Linked DNA regions of Homo sapiens: region 2 is linked to region 1. The links are contacts of gene promoters, found by promoter capture Hi-C in human tissues and cell types (Jung and others, 2019). All regions are on one chromosome and are shown on one strand. Each heading gives the region's core, a stretch centred on a gene start or on the middle of the fragment in contact. The rest is flanking DNA. Distances are from core to core; before and after follow the strand shown.

Region 1 (5,131 bases), core at 1,240-3,739:
GGGTGTAGTAAAACAATTGCTTGCCCCAAATAAATGACTTATCATTGCTGTTGGTTGTCTGCGTTTCTCTTTAATTATAGGCCCTCTTTGAACGCTCAAACACACAGGGCCTTTGTAAGCTTGAACTCCCTGTCTCACACACAGTCCTCCCATACCCATACACTCTCTTTCATTTGCAGAGTATAAACACCCATCTCTCACTCATTCACATAATGAATTTCAGCTCCTTGTGTCCCAATCAAGGAGAGGCCTCACTGGAATTATGGGCATCTGAGCCATCTTCATGTTCCAAGGCCCCAGGGGGCGCTTCCAAGAGTGGATCCTTTATGGGGAGAAGATAATGGGCAAAAAGTGCTCTTCACTGATGGACCAGTCCCAGCCTTTTCTCTCCTTGGACAATAGAGTTCTTCCCTTGAACAGCCACTTCCCTAAAAAAAATTCCAAAATTCTCCCACATCATCCCCTTTATGCTTAAAATCATCACACACTCCCTTCTTTGTCCTCCCCTCTTGCAAACTCAACTCAGAGCCCTTTGGCTCCAGAAAGATTTTCTAGGTATCAGGAGAGAGTAGCAAAGCCTCCCTCCTCTCCTTGCCTTTCTCCCTTGTCAGAGAAAGAAGTTGATTCTGCGGAGAGGTAAGAAGGATCTTGAGGTCTAGAGCCTGAAAAACTCCTTGGGCTGTTCTCCAAACTAGATGGGAACATAAGGTGCGATTGCATCTTCTCCAGCTGATACTCACTCGGCCTCCTATGCCAGTCCCCAGTCCAGGGTTTGGTCAAGGGTCAAATGAGATAATTTCATGGAGGAAGCCTGGCCCGATTTTTCTACTGTTTGCTGGAAGACAGCCTCTTCCTCTTGTAACTGCAGCCCCAGAACCTGATCTCCACATCCCTGCCAGGCAGGTAGCTGTGTACAAGGGCTCATCTTCCTGCCCCCAACCCCAGCTCTGATTTGCTTATTCAGGTGGTGTAAATACTTCTACCAGGACCTATTTCAAGCCATTGTGATGTCCCTGACTGGGGAGATGCAGGGCAGCACACCATTTAATATTTCCCTCACATTTCCACCCCATTCTGCACTCTTTTCTGGGAGTTGCTGTCTCAGAGGGTTGGCGGTTCTGGTGGCTCAAGACCATAAGTAATTATCAAATACTTAGGAAGCGACGGGTTTTGAGTATTTATTACCTTTTAAAAATGTACTTTGTGGCTAGGCATGGTGGCTCACGCCTGTAGTCCCCGCACCGGGAGGCCGAGGTGGGTGGATTGCTTGAGCTCAGGAGTTCAAGACCAGCCTGGGCAACACGGCGAAACCCAGTCTCTACCAAAAATACACACACACACACACACACACACACACACACACACACACACACACAAATTGGCCTAGCGTGGTGTCGTGTGTCTGTGGTCGCAGTTACTCAGGAGACCAAGGTAGGAGGTAGGAAACCAAGGTAGGAGGATCACCCGAGGTCGGTAGTTCGAGACCAGCCTGACCAACATGGAGAAACCCTGTCTTTACTAAAAATACAAAATTAGCTGGGCGTGGTGGTGCATGCCTGTAATTCCAGCTACTTGGGAGGCTGAGACAGGAGAATGGCTTGAACCCGGAAGGCGGAGTTTGCGGTGAGCTGAGATCGCGTCATTGCACTCCAGCCTGGGCAACAAGAGCAAAACTCCGTCTCAAAAAAAAAAAAATATATATATATATGTGTGTGTGTGTGTGTGTGTGTGTATGTATATATATATATGTATGTGTATATATATGTATGTGTGTGTGTGTGCATATATATATATACACTTTGTTTAATTGTAAGTGTGTTTAGTTTAATTTTTAATAATGTCCGTGATTAACAGCTGGCTGGCAAGATTCCTGAGAACTGAAGAGTTTGCCCCAGCCCATCCAGCACACCATGGGCCCAGGGCAGACCTTGGGGCTAGGCGGTCTTGGGTTCCAGAGGGCTCCCATGCCCCTGTCCTATTGCTCTTCTGGCAATAGGACATTTACGCGGGGGGGGGGGTGGTTCTTGATTCTGGGTCTTTTAGGGGACTCTGTGATTAAGAAACAGCAGGGATGTTGCAACAGCAGGGATGAGGTGGGCCTGGGGACGGGTCAGTGAAGGGTCTTCATTCCTAGCTGCTGACCTGATCTGCCCTGAGATAAAAGACTAAGACCCAGAGAGTGAACGCTGTCCGCGGGGGCAGAAGCGAGTGAGGCGTCGGGACAGTGGGGCATAACCAAGAGCAAAACGCAAACTGAGACTTCAGCGCCGGTTTCTCGGGCCAGCCCACGCCTCCTGCCTCAGCTCAATGCCACTCCCTCCCCGCCAAGTGGCTCTCCGCTCTGGAGGCGGGACCGAGTTCTCCGGTGGCCCCTGGAGGCTCCGGCAGCGAGCTCTGGGAGGCTGGGAGGGGAGTGAGGGGAGGGGCGCTGACTGGGCCGTCCAAAGAGGAGGGGGCCTTTAATAGGCTCGCCCAGCGCCTGGCTTGCTGCGCTGCGAGTGGCTGCGGTTGCGAGAAGCCGCCCGGCACCTTCCGCTAGTTCTCGGCTGCAAATCTTCGTCCTTGCACTTGACAGCGATTGTACTTAAGCTCCCAGGGCGCGCTTTGCTTGGAAAGGCACAGGTAGGAAGCGCGGGCTGCCGGGTGCACGCTCGCCGCCCTGGGAGGAGTCTCCCTCCCTTGGCTCTCCTTTCTGGGAACTGCCGGCTGTCCCGTAGCGTTGGCGGTTCCAGAGTGCGGGCTGCACGGAGACCGCGGCAGCGGCCGGAGAGCCCGGCCCAGCCCCTTCCCACAGCGCGGCGGTGCGCTGCCCGGCGCCATGCTTCTGCTGGGCATCCTAACCCTGGCTTTCGCCGGGCGAACCGCTGGAGGCTCTGAGCCAGAGCGGGAGGTAGTCGTTCCCATCCGACTGGACCCGGACATTAACGGCCGCCGCTACTACTGGCGGGGTCCCGAGGACTCCGGGGATCAGGGACTCATTTTTCAGATCACAGCATTTCAGGAGGACTTTTACCTACACCTGACGCCGGATGCTCAGTTCTTGGCTCCCGCCTTCTCCACTGAGCATCTGGGCGTCCCCCTCCAGGGGCTCACCGGGGGCTCTTCAGACCTGCGACGCTGCTTCTATTCTGGGGACGTGAACGCCGAGCCGGACTCGTTCGCTGCTGTGAGCCTGTGCGGGGGGCTCCGCGGAGCCTTTGGCTACCGAGGCGCCGAGTATGTCATTAGCCCGCTGCCCAATGCTAGCGCGCCGGCGGCGCAGCGCAACAGCCAGGGCGCACACCTTCTCCAGCGCCGGGGTGTTCCGGGCGGGCCTTCCGGAGACCCCACCTCTCGCTGCGGGGTGGCCTCGGGCTGGAACCCCGCCATCCTACGGGCCCTGGACCCTTACAAGCCGCGGCGGGCGGGCTTCGGGGAGAGTCGTAGCCGGCGCAGGTCTGGGCGCGCCAAGCGTTTCGTGTCTATCCCGCGGTACGTGGAGACGCTGGTGGTCGCGGACGAGTCAATGGTCAAGTTCCACGGCGCGGACCTGGAACATTATCTGCTGACGCTGCTGGCAACGGCGGCGCGACTCTACCGCCATCCCAGCATCCTCAACCCCATCAACATCGTTGTGGTCAAGGTGCTGCTTCTTAGAGATCGTGACTCCGGGCCCAAGGTCACCGGCAATGCGGCCCTGACGCTGCGCAACTTCTGTGCCTGGCAGAAGAAGCTGAACAAAGTGAGTGACAAGCACCCCGAGTACTGGGACACTGCCATCCTCTTCACCAGGCAGGTGAGTTGATCTGCCGTCACTTTGCACCCAGATAGTCCCGTTCTTTAGGGTCACCTCCCCTAGCGCTCCAAATCCCCTTTGTATCGTGCAATGCCTCCGAGTTTAAACCTCGTTGATCTCTTCCGACTCCAACTCTGTGGAGTTTCCAGGGAGAGCCCTCTCCCACGCTCCGCGGAGCGGCGGCTCACGTGCATCTGGGCCATTGGAGGAGAGCCTGCGCTTTCCGAAGGTGTTGGCCTGGCGCGGCCAATCAGCGCCTCCTGGATCAGGCGCCGAGGGGCCGGAACCCAGGAAGTTGCCGCCCCGGAGCTGCAGTTTGTGTCCAAGACCGATAGGAGACGCCGTGAGGATGGTGTTGGAGAGGGCGGGAACGGCCCACCCCTATTGTATGGGCGGCTGAGTCTTCTCGGACACCTCCTGAGGTCTCCTTTCAAGGGTTGTAGAACTGAAGGTGATCCAAGGTCAGCGCTTGCTACATTTCTCTCGGGTAACACGTTGTCCCCTCTCTGTACTGGGCCTGGAAAGCCTGGATTGGGGTGGAGGGAATCATTGAGAGATTTTGTGGGTTGCAGTGACAGGCCAGACTCAAGTACTGCGAGCATCCCTCCTTCACTGCCGCTTCTCCTACAGACTTCTCTGCTGGGCATGGTCCAAGAGGCTTCTAGACCATTCTGAGCAGGCGGTGTAGTTAGGGCACCTGTTTGGAGCTGAGACTGTTTCACTTGGAGTTTCAAGTGGAGTTTTACTTGGAGCTGAGTTGGGAAAATCTCTTCCAATTTTCCTGTATCCTTGCTGTCAGAGGGTGACCCGTTTGCCCAGATGTATACTACAGAGCAGAGCGGGCATGCTTGCTCCTGCTCCCAAGTCACTAAAATTCCTATGACCACACTTGACTTCAGGGCTCTAGCTTCTGCCCTTGCTGGGGTGGAAGTGGTGTGAGCTTAGTCAAGAGTATTTGGAGATTCCAGCTGTAGAGTTAGAAGGAAACTGAGTATTGGGATTAGAAAGATGGACCCAGCCCAGGAAGCAGCCCTGCCTTTTGCAAGGCCTTTCCTGATATTCTATGTCAAAGAAGCTACAAATCTGCAAACGTTTAGATTCACAGGTGTTGGAGTGATTGGGCACTGAGGAGTATTTGGATTCTTGAAATTTCTCAGATACAGGAGGCTGGGAGGAAAAGAGCCATCCAAGTGAGCCTCTTCTTCTGATTTGGGGGACTGTGACTTGAATCTGTGCCATGCTCTTTTTTTTGGTTATTATCATAACCACAGCACTCTGGGGATGGCGTGGAATCCTTGGTTACCTGTGGGGCTCTAACTCTCCACTGTTTCCAAATGGTCACTCAAAGTTGGACTG
Region 2 (5,131 bases), core at 1,184-3,683, 160 kb after region 1:
TTCATTCCTCCACCCTTGCCCCATAAGGCTCTAGGCGCCATTTATTTTTTGAGATCTCTTTGACACCTGCCTCTTCCATAAATGTTTCCCCATATGAACCCACTGATGAGATACTTTGTCACGTGTTGTTGTGTTGTTTGTCTTTGATTATTTCATGCATACCAAATTTGTCATCCAAGGTAGATTATAAGCTTTTAAAGGCAATGTTGTCTTAAATGTCCTTTTTCCCCCTTATAATAAAAACATGCTTCTGGGCACTTCAGCGCATCATAAACAGTTGAGGTGACTTGACTTTCACTTTAGGAGGAGCCAGCTGCTGAAACAGGTAAATTGGGAGACTTACGGCGCCAACTCTCTCTAAGGCTGAATTTCTTCTCTCTCTCCCCCTTTCTCTTTCAATCACTCTCATTCTCTCAGCTCTTAGGATCAACTGCAATTCCAAGAGACTTATGAGAGAGAAGAATGTTTGGTTTTTCTAAAAAGAGGAAAGAGAAAATTGAGAGTGGAGAGGGAGGGACATGGGATATTCATGCATTCTGTTTTTTTCATCTAACAAATATGTGTGTGATTATTGTTTGCCAAGCACTGTGTTAGGCTCTGAGGGGGAAAGAAGGTTATGAAGAGGAGAGGATAAGTTCCTGTCCTTAATAAATTTATAGCCTTGGGTCACTGAGTTGGAGCTTCCAGGTCTAGTTGACCTGCCAGGCTGGAATTCCATTGCTTTGGTTTCTCAAGTAATGAAGTCAATCCCCTTGGATTCATGGAGTTTGTCCAGAAAAAGTTGATGTGATTTGCTTCTCGCAGGAATGAGGACTCTTTGAAGGTGGTGTTTCTGTTTAATACAGGTCTGTGGGTCTTGTTCCTAGCATGTGACCTGGCAAAGAGCATATCCAGTGAGTGTTGAGTGAACAAAGGAGAAGTGGAAGAGACTGCAATGAGGAGAGAACTCCCTGGCTGCAGGCGGCTTTCTCGCAGCCCCAGGTGGAAGCTCTTCTACTGCACCAGCCCTGTGGTTATGTCAGATGGACTCAGGCCTCCAGAGTGTGGCTCCATAAACAACAGGAAAAAAACCAAAGCTTTCTGACCAGTCTGCTGTGTTTGGATTGGTGGGAGGTTCCCAGTTGGAGTCAGTGCCTCAGACATGAGTATCAGAGTCCTTCCATATGAGTGAGAGGAAGGCTTCTTGGCTCAGTCCCCAACTTTGGTGTGGAGTATATGGGCCTGGGGGTGTGACTCCGGGGGTGAGGTGGGGGCAATGCAGAGGGGTAGGCTGTGTTTGGAGCTTCTCAGGTCCTTCTCAGTTCCTCCCATTGGCCCAGGCATCCTCGCTTGTCCCCATGTGGTCTGGGGTCAGGACAGCAAGTTCTAATCCAGGCCCTGCTGCTTGCCAGCTGGGTAACCCCAGGCAACTCATTTCACCAACCTGGGCTTCAATGTCCTCATTGTAAAATGACAGGGTAGATTAGGCAATCCCTAAGGTGTCTCCTCGCAGTTTTATGAAATTATTTTTGTTACCCTGTAGCTGCAGATCCTGGCAAGGAAGCACTGACATTTTTGACATATGTTGAGATGGTTGAGGAAGACGGAGGGGTATCGAGAAACAGGGATATGAGATGTACCCTGAAACGGAACCTGGGACTCCTTTTCCCTGGTCTTTTGCACTCATCACTACCCTACCCTCTTTTTATCTGTCCTTTACCCCACCCCCAAAAGATGATCCTTCTGGGAGATGACAGCGTGCAATGGGGGAAACGCAGAACATCCCAGCATCTCTCGGCCTCCGTTTCTCATCTGCACAGGGAGGCTAATGCCACCTCCCTTACTTGGAGGTTGTGAGGATGAAGTGAAGTCATCTATATGCTGTACCTTGTAAACTGTCAAACACCACATAAACGCAAGGCATAAAGCTGGCTTGGATGGGAAAACTATTATAACATGTCAGGTAGCCCCTTCTTACGTGAAGATGTTTCAGTACAAGGGATGTTTCTTTTGTCATTTGTCAATGGCCTGTCCTGTTGGGTTTTGCCTGCCTTTTGGAGGGAGAAACACTGCTGTCCAACACTTCATTTCTTTGGATGCTTTTCCACTAGAGCAGAAAGAAAAGCATTTTCCATATGATTTGGTTTATCTCAGTACGCCTGTGCAGCAGCATCTCTAGGTCTTAAGATGACAAGGATTTGCTCTCCATCTCTGGAGCAGAGAGGACCAGGGAGGCTGCGTTGGGAGCGATGCCAGGAAGTGGTGGTTGGTGTGTCATTTTCTTTCATGGCCATATTAGAGTTGGGTCCAGGGGAAAGGGCACTGAACAGGACTGGAGTTACTTCAAATCGTTCTGGTTTTTGATTTCCACATATTAGTTGAAAGTTTGACAAGATCTCAGATAACATCTAGCTCAGCTGCTCTCTTAGGCCTGAGAGTTAGGGCCTAGCTGAAGCCATCTAGCTCATTTAGAAAGGAACAGGAACTAGAATCTGGTCTCTGGACTTGGTTTTAGTGCTCTTTCTGGAATACCACAAGCATCCCTGTTCTTCCTCCTTCTTCCCACATATTCCCCATCACTCCCCACACCTCCCTTCACCTCTGCTCTTTGCTTCCCTTTCCTGAGCCCTTTTGGTGTAACTCTCAGGATGGAAAAGCTTTCTGAGTTTCTGGGACAGGCTTACTGTTTCATAGGGTGGAGTGACCTTCCCAAAGCAGCTTGGCCATGTTCTCCGGATGTCAGGAAGCAGCCTGGGCACCAGCTCACTGCATGGGCCTCTTCTCAGATCCAGATGCAAGAGTCAGAGACTCCACCCATGGGCCCCATGCCTAAGGGGTCAGAGACATAACTTGTGAAGTGGGTTCTGTGGTGGCTGGGGCCCACTGTCCCCTCCCCGTCCCTTGCTGATGTGGAAGGACCAGTGTGTGCTGACCTATGGTGTTCCTTCCTGATCCAATCCTTCTAACCCCTGCCCCCTTACCTCCCACTGGGGCATTCCAAAGCCACGAAGCATCCACTTGGCAGCCCTCTCCAGCGTCACCCAGATATCGCTGGCCTGTGTTCAAGTGCCCATCTAAGCCCAACACGGGGTTGCCTGGTCTAGGGGAACTCACCCTGGGGAGATGTCACCCTCTGGCAACAGCTGACTCTATTTATTCAGATGAGAACAATTTTCTCTCCTTTTGCACTTTCAACAAGCTTGACTTGAGGCTCCCCCATTGCTAGGCTGCCAAAAGCAATAAAAGGCTGAGGAGGAGGTGGAGGGAGGGTGGGGGTAGACGCTCCACGGTAATTGAGCTGTCAGCTGAGCCCTGGGGCTTCCTGGATCTGGGGTGTCTCACAGCCCACATGGGCTTGTTTGCAGCAATAGGGAAGGGAGCCGTTTGACTTCATAATCACTCAGAGAGATAGCGGTGCTCAGGGCAGGTGGGGTGGGCCTGGGTGGAAGGCGCTGCTAACCAGACTCCCATGTTGTCGGCTTCCTTCTGGTCTGGGCTGGAGCTGCCTCAATAGTTTGAACAGGAAACCGAACTGTCACATGGAGGTGGTGGGTGGGGATCATTGTGGGGTAGAGGGCCTCAATGCTGTGTGCTCTGTGATGTGCCAAAATGAGTAAGTCAGGAGACGATGTCCAGGTACACCCCAAATCTGAGGGCCCAAAGAGCAGCTTGGCTCTCGCCAGAGCATCCCTGTTTGTTTTTCAGTTTTGCTGGCTTTTTGCTGTTCTACAGTAGTGACTCTTGTGGGATTATTGGGCTATTAGTTCCCCGGGAGGAGGGTCCTGGAGTATCATTTCTGCCAGCCTGCCACCGTCCGGGTGTCTTGGGTGAGAAGACAGGTATGCACTCTGGGCTGCTCTGAGTGGACCTGGCTGCCCTGGGGCTGCAAAGCTGGGCCCCTTTCACCCGGGGACTTGGATGGCTTGGGATGCTATCAAGAGTGGGATGCAGAGGAAGGCAGTGAGCAGCTTCCTTAAGGGAGGGTCACAAGGACCCACATCACTATCATTTGGAAACAGTTTATTGTCCCAGTTTGGCATTCAGCTGCTCTGCTTGCCTTCCCCTTCACACTCATTCTCTTGTCCTTCCCCAGTCCTCGCTCAGATCCAGCATCCCCCACACCTGGCACCACAGGGGCCTTTGCTCACACTGCCCCCTCTGCCATGATGGCCCTTTCCTCGTGTCCAACCACACCCATGGATCACACTCTACTTCCTCCCTAATTCCTTCCTGAAACTCCTCTGAGACCTCTCTGGCTTCCCTGTCCTTTCCTCATCCCTCACTTACAGCACCAAGACCCCTCTGTCTCCTGTCAGTGGCTCAGGAATGGCCCTGCGTCTCCCGCTAGATTGAGCTTCCTGAAGGAGAGATTCTCGCTCTCTCACGCTGTGCCTCCTTCACACGCCTAGCACAGGCCCTGTGAGCAGGTGTGCAGCAATTCCCTGTGTGGGTGAGACATCCCGCAAGCAAGCATTAACATTTGCACATTTGCATAGTGCATGATAAAGATGGAGCTCCTGCTCTCGGTAGCTCTTCATTTGGAACAGAGGGCTCTGATGGGGGCCAATGAATAAATGAAAAGGCCCTATGTATGGGTATGCCTTAAACCCGGTTTGTGGTTGTTGGAGCAGGCTTTCTACCAATGCTCCTGGGGCTCAGTGATAGTTCTGGATCACCCATATTGTCTTGTCAGTCTCACCTGCAAATTTCTAGTTTGAAAGTCTTGGGAAGCCTGCACTAGACACCTCTGTGCTAATCCTAGAGGGGAACCAGCTTAAGAAATAAGCCACCACCTTTGATGGGACCTAAGTCCCTAGGTCACTGTCCAGCAGCACCACTTGATTCCTAGCTCTGGCCCCAGGGGTTGATCTCAAAATAAATTTCAAATCATAGTTGATGGGAAAAAAAAGAAGATTGAGATGAAATTAAAAATAAATGGGAATAGCATACGGAAGTATAGGGAGGGCAGAGCTGGGGCCGGGGCCCCTGGGTGCTTAAAGGAGAAAGATGTTCTTCCCATGAGAAAAATCATCTAAGAGCATCAAATAAGCCTCTTGTGAGGGATAGAGACTCCTCTGTCCCCAGACTCCTCCCACTGAGAAAGTGGGTGGCTCTAGACTTGTGCTGGCTCCTGATGTAGGGCTCATGGGCG

Evidence for each region. Contacts are between HindIII fragments. The study calls those that stand out against the background at their distance.
Region 2: a fragment that was not itself captured here is called in contact with the fragment with the promoter of ADAMTS15 in region 1 in 2 of the 25 tissues and cell types used here (aorta and bladder).

Annotation. Positions count from the first base shown.
Region 1 is chr11:130,446,156-130,451,286 of GRCh38, forward strand. It overlaps ADAMTS15 (ADAM metallopeptidase with thrombospondin type 1 motif 15), which reads left to right and starts at 2,490. Exons shown (of 8, transcript NM_139055.4): 1 at 2,490-3,775. The coding sequence starts at 2,819. The HindIII fragment of the contact is 14,209 bases long and covers 1-5,131 here.
Region 2 is chr11:130,604,097-130,609,227 of GRCh38, forward strand. No RefSeq gene overlaps it. Among named protein-coding and RNA genes, the nearest start is that of MIR8052, 60 kb to the right of the region's middle. The HindIII fragment of the contact is 3,601 bases long and covers 634-4,234 here.